Regions from separate parts of the Homo sapiens genome. Here regions 2, 3 and 4 are each linked to region 1. The links are contacts of gene promoters, found by promoter capture Hi-C in blood cells and fetal thymus (Javierre and others, 2016). All regions are on one chromosome and are shown on one strand. The core of a region is centred on a gene start or on the middle of the fragment in contact, and the rest is flanking DNA. Distances in the headings are between cores, read along the strand shown.

What was found. The method cuts DNA at HindIII sites, captures the fragments that hold promoters and counts their contacts. A CHiCAGO score of 5 or more calls a contact.
Region 2: a contact is called between a fragment that was not itself captured here and the fragment with the promoter of ZFY in region 1, in 14 of 17 cell types (naive CD4 T cells, non-activated CD4 T cells, neutrophils and 11 more). The highest score is 13.5, in naive CD4 T cells.
Region 3: a fragment that was not itself captured here is called in contact with the fragment with the promoter of ZFY in region 1 in 9 of 17 cell types (naive CD4 T cells, naive CD8 T cells, total CD8 T cells and 6 more); the score reaches 10.9 in naive CD4 T cells.
Region 4: a fragment that was not itself captured here is called in contact with the fragment with the promoter of ZFY in region 1 in 13 of 17 cell types (M0 macrophages, naive CD4 T cells, naive CD8 T cells and 10 more); the score reaches 10.4 in M0 macrophages.

The regions. Positions count from the first base shown.
Region 1 is chrY:2,933,933-2,936,632 of GRCh38, reverse strand. ZFY (zinc finger protein Y-linked) reads right to left here and starts at 1,252. Exons shown (of 8, transcript NM_003411.4): 1 at 864-1,252. The HindIII fragment of the contact is 5,223 bases long and covers 1-2,700 here.
Region 2 is chrY:2,975,198-2,977,897 of GRCh38, reverse strand. ZFY (zinc finger protein Y-linked) reads right to left here. Exons shown (of 8, transcript NM_003411.4): 4 at 2,654-2,700; 5 at 2,244-2,387; 6 at 1,076-1,228. All of the region lies in intron 2 of ZFY-AS1 (ZFY antisense RNA 1), which reads left to right. Among named protein-coding and RNA genes, the nearest start is that of ZFY-AS1, 26 kb to the left of the region's middle. The HindIII fragment of the contact is 3,777 bases long and covers 1-2,700 here.
Region 3 is chrY:2,871,556-2,874,255 of GRCh38, reverse strand. No RefSeq gene overlaps it. Among named protein-coding and RNA genes, the nearest start is that of RPS4Y1, 31 kb to the right of the region's middle. The HindIII fragment of the contact is 6,134 bases long and covers 1-2,700 here.
Region 4 is chrY:2,896,196-2,898,895 of GRCh38, reverse strand. No RefSeq gene overlaps it. Among named protein-coding and RNA genes, the nearest start is that of ZFY, 38 kb to the left of the region's middle. The HindIII fragment of the contact is 1,599 bases long and covers 531-2,129 here.

The DNA.
Region 1 (2,700 bases), core at 3-2,502:
CTCTTCTGCCTATTTTCCATCTCTTACTCAAAAAAAGTACACGGACTAAAAAAAAGCTCGCTCGTTTAAATACAGCTCATCAAAAAAGTGTTTCCACATAAATGGGAAAAGTCGCCTTGGGGAAATTTTATTCCTCTGCCCTCGTGCTGTATAATTTGTACTGTACTGTCTATTGGACGAGTGCCTAATAACTTTTTCATAATAAATTCCAGTTCTATTTTGCAGATCCTCGAAGAGGCAATGATGGTTGAAAAATAAGCGCATCGAAGGTCCCCGAACAGCCACATAATGACTTTAATTAGGGGAAAATAAAATTTTCTGGAATTTATGTGCTCTCGTGAGCCTAGATGCCCGAATTGCCACCTGCTGAAACGGGTGGCTGTAGACTCTCGGAAGGGCACAGAGCCGGGAGCGCTGAGGGGCGAAATGACCCCGGCGCCCGAACGGACGCCTGCGGCATGTCACCTAAAGCGTAGCCGACACTGCACCCAGCCAAGGATGGGCTGTGAGGGGAAGGCCGAAAGGTGGCGCTGCCGCAGGCGTCTGGAACGTACGCGCGCATATGGCGACAAAGGCAAGGGCCGCCAAGGGAACGAGCACGCCCTGTTGCGCAGACACGCCGTCGCGCCGGAGGCTGCGCTGCCGCCGCCGCCGCCGTCCTTTTCCCCATCCCCGCCTCAAGGATCATAACCGAATTTTTTTTCCAGATACCGCCTTCAAGATGGCGGCTCCGCCTCCCGACAACACTCTCAATACTCCCCAGCAGCAGGCGCCTAGCAGCCGCCATCTTGCCCCCCCGTCCCTCCTCCCCTTCGCGGACATTTACATAGCGAAAATAGGCCCAGCAGGCCTCCGGCCTTCACCTCACGCCTGCAGCCTTCGCCTTCTCGCCCCCGTGCCGTGCCCTGCGTCCGCAGTGGTGTCGACCCCAGGTCCATCAACTGCCTTCCGGACAAACGGGCGAACTTTTCCCACCCTGCCCGCTTATGGAGCGCACCTCCGCAGCCGCTCAGGGCAACTGGATAATCACTAGGCCTAACTGCGGCCTCCTCGGGGCCTGTTCGGCGCCGAGCGCCACGCCGGCCGGCCTAGCGCGGGAGGGCGCCCTACGGGACGCCGACCAGGCCACAAACAGGTTACTGCGCGCGCACTAGGCCCCGCGGCCGCGGGGGCACGCGGGACTCACCCGACGGATGTGCGGGCGGTCGGCGACAGCGGCGGGTGCTGCAGGACGGCCTTTCTCTGGAGCACTGGGCCGGGCTCCGGCTGGTAGGGCGGGCGGAGGGAGGGAGGAGGGGCCGAGTTCGGAGCTGACAAAAAGCGGCCCAGCTCCCCGGCACGGGCCCGCCGTCAGCACGTCACGTCACCGCCCGGGAGAGAGACCCAGGAAAATGCGGGATGGTAGTTGGGCCCCCTCCGCCCGGTGGGCCTCTCGGCGCCCCGGGTCGGCGCCGGTCACGCCCCGAGTCCGGGGAGTCCAGTGACCTCACTGCGGTGGGGTCTCCGGCAGCTGGAGTTTCCGTCACAACGTTCCTTTTCTCCGCGCGCCCGCCGTCACCACTACTTGCGCACCACCGCCTTAGTTGGTTGCGTGCAGGCAAGCGGCCCCGCACCGGGCCAGGCCACCCCCTGCCATCTCCGGTGGACCTGGGATTCCTAATCTCCCACACCCTGCGCCAGGCTCTCCCGAGACCTATCGCCTCTCGGCGCCAGTCCTAGCCAAGGCGACAGATCTCATTGTTGCAGGCCCTTAGACCCCCGCCCTCAGTAAACGTGTTTACTTTATTCCTAGGGTTGAGGAGGAAAGCAGATACAGACATATAGCATTCCCCACTGTCTCCTTTGTTGGCTTTAAAAAAAAAAAAAAAGAAAGTAAATGGACTTGCCACAGTGTACAGGCAAGAGGAGGGGAGGATTATCCTAATCAATTACTGAGCCAATTGATTTTTTTTTTTGCGTTAACGTAGGTATTTTGACCAAGATTTGTAATGTCTAGTGTGTGTTCTTTATGGCAGTGTTTCATCTTTTGGCATCCTTGAAATGTCAGTTTTGTGTAATTGTCTCATGAACAATGAATTATGCACACCCTTTAATAAATGTAAACTAACAATTGGTTTTGGGATTGTCTTCTTACAAAATTATTTATCCTCTTAAAGTTTAAAAAGGCTTTAGAGACTGAGAGGAAAATGCATTTGATTAAACAGATAGTACTGATGAACTCCAAAAACGTGTATTGTGCGTTTTCATTACTTTACGTTTTAATGCACTCTAATTTCCCATTAAACTAGGTACCCAAACTGTGTTTAAAAGTTGCTACTAAAAAGTTAAACATGCCTATCGCGGTCGCTCACCTCTGAGCGCTTTGGGAGGACAAGGCTGGAGTATCGCTTGAGGCCAGCAGATACAGGCGGACAGCTGTGATCAAGCCACTGCACTGCAGCCTGTGGGCCAGAGCCGGTAATCTCTAAATGTAGAGGCCAGGTATTTCAGTTTTCTAGCATACCTATTTTTAAAACTCAGAAATCATCTTGTCCTTAACTGAGAAACCTAAAAATCATAAAATGCTTTACGAAAGGAAAACCAGTGGTACATAGTTGATATAATGAGTTAAGTGCTGGATAGCAATTCTCTTTTCAAACCATTGGTTTGACCTTGTTTTCTCAAGTCGTTACCTTTTGTTTCAAAAATGATAAATGAGAG
Region 2 (2,700 bases), core at 75-2,574, 41 kb before region 1:
ATTCTAAAGAATTACGAATTCTTTATTAACAACAAGAAGTCCTGACACTCATGAATGACAGAAAGTCCTTACTTTATTTATTTTTATTCTTTTTTTTTTTTTTTTTTTTTTTTTTTTGAGACAGAGTCTTGCTCTGTCACCCAGGCTGGAGTACAGAGGTGTAATCTTGGCTCACTGCAACCTCCTCCTCTCAGGTTCAAGTGATTATCCTGCCTCAGCATCCTGAATAGCTGGGATTACAGGAACAACGCCATCACACCCATCTCATTTTTTTGTATTTTTAGTAGAGAGGAGGTTTCACCATATTGGCCAGGCTGATCTTGAACTCCTGACCTCAGGTCATCCACCTGCCTCAGACTCCCAAAGTGCTGGGATTACAGGCAAGAGCCACACCTGGCCCCCAATTGTAGACCATGTGTTTTATGGGCATATATATGGCAAGACCAGGGGAAGTGCCTAGCTTCCGTATCTAGCAGCATGCTGCTCTACTGGACTCCCTGCTATCTCCCAAAAATTGTAAAGTTATGTGTCACCTATAAACCAAGATTTAAAATGTTAGACTGAAAGCTCCCACACTTCTTACATAATAAAAGAAGTTCATGTTAAAATTAAAGGCAACAGGGAGACTATTTAATCCTCCTCTACTTTTGCTTAAATCATGAAACCCTAAAAAAAACCCTTTTTTTTTTTTTTTTTTTTTTTTTTTTTTTTTTTTTTGAGATGGAGTCTTGCTCTGCTGCCCAGGCTGGAGTGCAGTGGCGCAATCTCAGCTCACTGCAAGCTCCACCTCCCAGGTTCACGCCATTCTCCTGCCTCAGCCTCCTCAGTAGCTGGGATTACAGGTGCCTGCCACCACGTCTGGCTAATTTTTTAAAAATATTTTTTAGTAGAGACAGGGTTTCACCATGTTAGCCAGGATGGTCTCAATCTCCTGACCTCGTGATCCGCCTGCCTCAGCCTCCCAAAGTGCTGGGATTACAGACATGAGCCACCACGCCTGGCCAACAGAAACCACTTTCAACAGTGAATTAATGTTCAAAAACTACTCAATCCTTCTGGCTTCTATGTAAGTTACCATAAGCTGCTGCCCATGCAATTGGTACGAAGGTTTTCATTTCATCCTCATCAATTTGCTGCTCATGCACAGCAGCTGCTGCTGCTGCAACAGCAGCATCCTCCTCTCCTACGATCACTTCCATATAAACTTCATCAGCAATTTCAGCAACATCTAAGCACAAAATAAATAAAAAATTTTTTGTGACTAGGTTTACAGAGATCACACAGAAAAAATTCATTAGTAGGAAAAAATAAACATTGGTTGAATTATTCGTTTCTTGGCTTTCACCATAATTAGTTTATAAAGCAACTATCAAAACATACATAGTCACTGATATCTATTCTTGGAATACGGCAACACAGTAATCTCTACAACAGCGCTGCTTATTTTTTTTCAAATATTGGTTACATTAAAAAAAAAGACGACAGCTTGGGCAGGGCACAGTGGCTCACGCCTGTAATCCCAGCACTTTGGGAGACCAAGGTGGGCGGATCACGAGGTCAAGAGATCGAGACCATCCTGGCCAACATGGTGAAACCCTCATCTCTACTAAAAATACAAAAATTAGCTGGGTGTGGTGGCACGTGCCTGTAGTCTCAGCTACTTGGGAGGCTGAGGCAGGAGAACTGCTTGAACCCAGGAGGTGGAAGCTGCAGTGAGCGGAGATTGCTCCACTGCACTCCATCCAGCCTGGCAACAGAATAAGACTCTGTCTCAAAAAAAAAAAAAAAACACACCTTGTAGAAACATAAAACCCTCTCCCACAAAAAAAGCCACATACTGGCACATATACATCATGGAATACTATGCAGCCATAAAAAAGAATAAGCTCATGTCCTTTGCAGGGACATGGATGAAGCTGGAAACCATCATCCTCAGCAAACTAACACAAGAACAGAAAACCAAACGTCACATGTTCTCACTCGTAAGTGGGAGCTGAACAATGAGGACACATGGACACACGGAGGGGAACATCACACACTGGGGCCCACTGTGGGGTGGGGTGCAAGGGGAGAGAGAGCATTAGGACAAATACCTAATGGATGGGGGGCTTAAAAGCCTAGATGATGGGTTGATAGGTGCAGCAAACCACCATGGCACATGTATATCTATGTAACAAATCTGCACATTCAGCACATGTACCCCAGAACTTAAAGTAAAAATTTTTTTTTAAAAAGCCACATACTTAAATCTTCATCTTCTTGTTGAGAGTCATTGACAGTCATATAAACCATCTTTTCCCTGGGAACACGAATACTGCTGTTCTGATCAAGTAGTTCAACTCCATGATCATTTTCAGGTTCACTCTCCACAATGTCTACAGTTCCACCTATCAGAGAATATGAAAGCTCCAAAAATTATTTGAGAGTTCATTTTCACATATTTTGCTTACACGTTTTAGTGTATTTTTATATTACTAACTCAAAAATATGTCTTAAAAGTTGTCTTTGGAAAAGAGTTCAAATTTTCCAATCTAAATAACCTAAACTAAATGTTAAGTATCAATGAAAAAAAGTAACCTGTTTACTTTTTTTGACACCATTTGGTTGAAACATTTGGATGACAATGTATAAAATGCTGACAGCTTCCTCTTACCTAAGTCATCTTCTCCAGGGTCAGCTTTAAAAATGTACACCTTGATG
Region 3 (2,700 bases), core at 8-2,507, 62 kb after region 1:
TATCTACAAGAAACTCACTTTCATATAAAAGTACAGACAGGCTGAAAAGTTCAAAAGTGAAAAGCAGAACAGGAGTGGATAGATATATTACCAGATAAAGTAGACTAGAGAAGATAAAATTATCAGCGATGTAAAGGATATTGTATAATGCTAAATAAAACAACCTAGAAGAAACAGCAATCTGAACTGTCCATGCAGCAAGAAACAGAACTGAAAATATGTCAAGCAAAACCTAAAAAATATAAAAGAAAAAGACAAATCTATTATAGTTCGAAAGGCCAACATCCTTTATCAAAAAAATTCACCAGACAACTAGAAAGAAAATCAACAAAAAAGAGACCTCTCAGTAACACCATCACCCAAAACCATCTAATGAACATTTATGGAACACTCTGCTAAATGCAAAATACACATTATTTTCAAGGTTCCTCTGCCATCAAACAAAACTCAACAAATAAAAAAGAATTACAATAATCCAGTGTGTTCCCAAACTACAACAAAACTAAAGTAGAAATCAGTAAGAAAATTATAACAGGAAAATCTCCATACACTGGGACGATTATCCCTTGGGTCAAGCAAGAATCCTTCAATAATCAGAGGGTTAAAGGAAAAGTGTCAAGAAACAATAAAATAATACATTGAGCTGGATAAATTTGAAAACACATTTCAGATCAGATGAAGGTAAAAGGAGAAGGCGTGCTGACAGGTAAAATTATGGCATTAAATTAAAACATGGGAAAAGAGAATACATTTCAATAATGTACACTTCCATTTTAATAACTTGTATAGAGAAGGGCAAAAATAATCCAAAGCAAGCAAAAGGAAAAAAAATAAAGTATACAAATCTATCAAATAGAAAAGAGAAACAATAGATAAAAATCAATGAAACAGGCTGGACATGGTGGGTCACCACCTGTAATCGCAGCACTTTGGGAGGCCAACACAAGCAGATCACTTGAGATCAGGAGTTCAAGGCTAGCCTGGTCAACATGGTGAAACCCCATCTCCACTAAAAATAAATACAAAATTTAGCCAGGTTGGAGGCAGGTGCCTGTAATCCCAGCTACTTGGCAGACTGAGGCAGGAGAATCACTTGAACCTGGGATGCGGAGGTTGCAGTGAGCCAAGAGTATGCCACTGCACTCCAGCCTGGGCAACACAGTGAGACTTCATCTTAAAAAAAAAAAAAAAAAAAGTCATTGAAACACAGAATGGTTGTGTAAAGATTGATAAAATTGACCAACCTCTTTCTAGTAAGACTGACAAAGATGAAGAAATAAATATCATGATCAGGATAAAACAGGGTATTCTGCTTTACAGACCCTATACACCTTACACACACATACATACACACTCAATATGGGAATACTATAAATAATTATACACACATAAATTTGAATCTTTGACAAAATGGACACATTTCTCAGAAAGCACACAGATGCTGGGCATGGTGGCTCACCCTTGTAACCTCAACACTTTGGGAGGCTGAGGCAGGAGGACTGCTTGAGCCCAGTTAAAAACCAGCCTGGGCAAAATGGTGAGACACCATCTCTACAAATAAGTTTAAAAAAAAAATTACCATGGTGTTGGGAGCAAGCCCCCCAAAATCTGGCCATAAACTGGCCCCAAGACTGGCCATAAACAAAATTTCTGCAGCAGTGTAACATGTTCATAATGGCCCTAACGCCCAAGCTGGAAGGTTGTGGGTTTACGGGAATGAGGGCAAGGAACACCTGGCCCACCCAGGGCGGAAAACCGCTGAACGACGTTTTTAAGCCACAAACAATAGCATGAGCGATCTGTGTCTTAAGGGCGTGTTCCTGCTGCAGTTAACTAACCAAACCTATTCCTTTAATTTGGCCCATCCCTTTGTTTCCCTTAAGGGATACTTTTAGTTAATTTAATATCTATAGAAACAATGCTAATGCCTGGTTTGCTGTTAATAAATATGTGAGTAAATCTCTGTTCGGGGCACTCAGCTCTGAAGGCTGAGACCCCTGATTTCCCATTTCACACCTCTATATCTGTGTGTGTGTGTCTTTAATTCCTCCAGCGCCCGCTGGGTTAGGGTCTCCCCGACTGAACTGGTCTCAGCACCCTGGCATGGTGGTGTGTGGCTGTGGTCCCAGCTACTTGGGATACTGAGGCAGGAAGCTCACCTGAGCTCAGGAGTTTGAGTCTATTGAGAGCCATGATTATGTCACCACACTCCAGACTGAATGACAGACTGAGACTTTGTCTCAAAACAAAACAAAAACCAACAGACACAGCACTTCCACCCATCGATAGAGATACTTTAAATTGTCCCATAACTATTCACAGAATTAAATGTATAATTTAAAATGTTGACTCCTAAAAAAAAAACTCAAAAGATACCATCTAAAGAAATAACATCAATTCTACCTAATCCTATGAAAAATAGAAGATAATCTACCATATATCTTTAAGAACATAATTCTACATAATCTCTGAGAAAACAAGAGTTACAGCAAACACATTCCTAAGAGAGAATTCCATAGCAATGAACACACACATCAAAAAACAAGGAAGGCCGGGTACACTGGCTCACACCTGAGTACCACAGGTAAGTGCTATGTTCTTGGGCAACATATAAATTGTAACCTCTTTTGAGTTTAGCTTTCTTTCCTCTAAACCACTTCAGTGATACTCTTTCATGTTGCTCAATGTTTTAGAAGTGCT
Region 4 (2,700 bases), core at 81-2,580, 38 kb after region 1:
AGGCCGAGGTGGGCAGATCACCTGAGGTCCAGGATTCGAGATCAGCCTGGCCAACATGGTAAAACCTCCTCTCCACTAAAAACACAAAAATTAGCTGGGCGTGGTGGTGTGCACCTGTAATCCCAACTACTCAGGAGGCTGAGGCAGGAGAATTGCTTAAACCCAGTAGGTAAAGGTTGCAGTGACCTGAGATCATGCCACTGCACTCCAGCCATGGAGACAGAGTGAGACTCTGTCTCAAAAAAAAATTTAATTTAATTAATTAATTAATTAAGATACAGTTTACAAGCATTGTAAAATGTCATGTTCTGATATAGATGTACATTGTGAAATGCTTAAATTATATGAATCCTAATTAATGTGACATTTATGGGATGACTCCTAAGGCTCTGTGAGACCAGTAAAATCATATGCAAAACTGCTTGGCTTAATGTATTTATCCAGGGGGAAAACCACACCTAATTGCTCTTAAAAGAAATTTATGGTCCCTGTGCCTCCAAGAGCTTAAATGTTAATGCCATCCTCAAGCTTCTTTTCACAATATAATCAACAATTCAAAAGATCCTTTTGAGCCATTCAGTCTATAATATCCCAAACTACCAATTTTCTAAACACTAGTTATTGACTAGCTAATCAAAAAGTCAATTATAAATAGACTCACAATCATTCACTATTTGTTGCCTAATAAAAATGAATCATTAAATAAAACTATAATTTGCTTAACTTGGGGTATTATTTGTTTAAAATAAAATATCAGGATCTTGCCTTCTACAAGCTCCAATTTTTTCAAGCATTAATAACTTCACATGATTATTTTAAGAAAAAAGACAAATACTTGCTATTTCATAGCAGAAACAAATGCTAGGATTAGAATCTGTTTTCTAAGATTATCAATTAATTAGTTAAGACAAAATATAAAAGAACTGGAAAGATCCTCATTACTTATGTAGAAGCATTTGGTGTTTGTCACCATATTTTCCAATAAGAAAAGACTGTTGAATTTTAGGAGTAACCAATGAGAAATAAGTGTAGGGCATCAGGGAGAAGGTGACTAGAACTGTCTTCACCTTCCAATTTTGCAATCTAAGAATAGAGTCAAGGGAGTTCTGGAAGTCTCTTTATGTATATTAGTGCTCATGCTCCAACTCAAAATTAAAAAAATTAATTGGATCCTATTAATTTCATTTTCACCATAAATTTTAAAGATAAGGCAAGGTAGCATACATGGGGCAAAACAGGAGCCAGTTCTGAAAGACAGTTTTTGTCTTCCCAGTTTCTACTGGTACCACAGTCCTTCAAGCCTGGACATACTAAAAACTGAATCATGAAAAAATAAAAAGAAAAACTTCATTTCAACTAGGTCCAGTGGTATTTGTGGTAAGGCAAGGGCCAGTTGTAATAAGCAATTTCATTTCAAAACTGCATGAATCTACAAATCTGGAAATGTTTAGCAATGATCAAAGTATGCTAAAATGTAGATTAAATTCACCAATATGCCAAGTTTGACATTTATTTTAGATTCTACTATTTAAGTAGTAGAAGTTGAATTTCTGTCACCAAAAAAAAAACTAATTTTGCTTTAAGTATGTAACCCGAAGTTGCTAAGAGAAATTCTGACTTCATCAAAATACATTTAATTTTGATTCTTCAGTCACCATCTACTTTTGGCTTGATGGTCATTCCTCTTCTGTTCCGACCCCATCCAATTAAATTGCAAAATGAATGTAAATGAAGACATAAATTTTAAATCCATTTGGTCAGCATTGCCACACAATCATGACATAACTGGTTTAACCTGCATAATTCTAAATTTAAATTTGTTCTCATTATATGCCCTCGTATACATAAAGGTCTGTATTATCTCTTCAGATAAGTTCTGGTCAGCATATATAAGAAAGAAAGCCAGCAAAATGTTGCCACTATATATATGCTTATCTTCCTCTATCATAATATTTCTACACATTAGGAACATTATGATATTCCTATGATATTAGAAACCAGCCAATAAAGAGCACTCTAAGTCCCTTTAAGAAGCCATGACAATACACAAAACAACTCAGCCTAATTTTTTAAAAATTTCATTATATATTCTTTTCTCCTTTAAAAATGCAAAAATGCTTTCCTAAGCTTGTCAGGAGCTGAAAAGATTAGAATAGCTTTAAATGAAAATAAGTAAAGAACTGGAAGATCATATTTTTCATAAGCATATTAGTCTTAATAGCAGAGCAAACTATGCTATGTTCTTCAAGTTTGTTCTGGCCAATAACCAGGCCAATCATTTAGGAAAAACAAAACTCACTTTAACATGGGTAAAAGCTACAATTGTAAAAATATAAGAGAAGAAGAAAAATCAGAAGAGTTGGAGACTTGAAGTCTGTAAGTCCTTGTGCTCACAACAGAAATACCAAGTAAACAACAATATACTGACCAAAGTAGTCTGTGGGAAATTTAGAAAGTAGTTACGGATCTTCTACAACTAACAAGGTATTCACTCAAGAAAAAGCACACTCATAATGGCAGGAAATTTCTACTGGTACCACAGTCCTTTGAGCCTGGAAATACTAAAAACTGAAACATGAAAGGCATTTTTGCTCGCTTTTGCCCCACCATCTACAACATGCAGTCTGGTGCAGTGACACCTTTTCCCAGTTCCTCTCCTCAAGACATAAGAAAAGGAGTGAAACTCATTTTCAAAGTGTT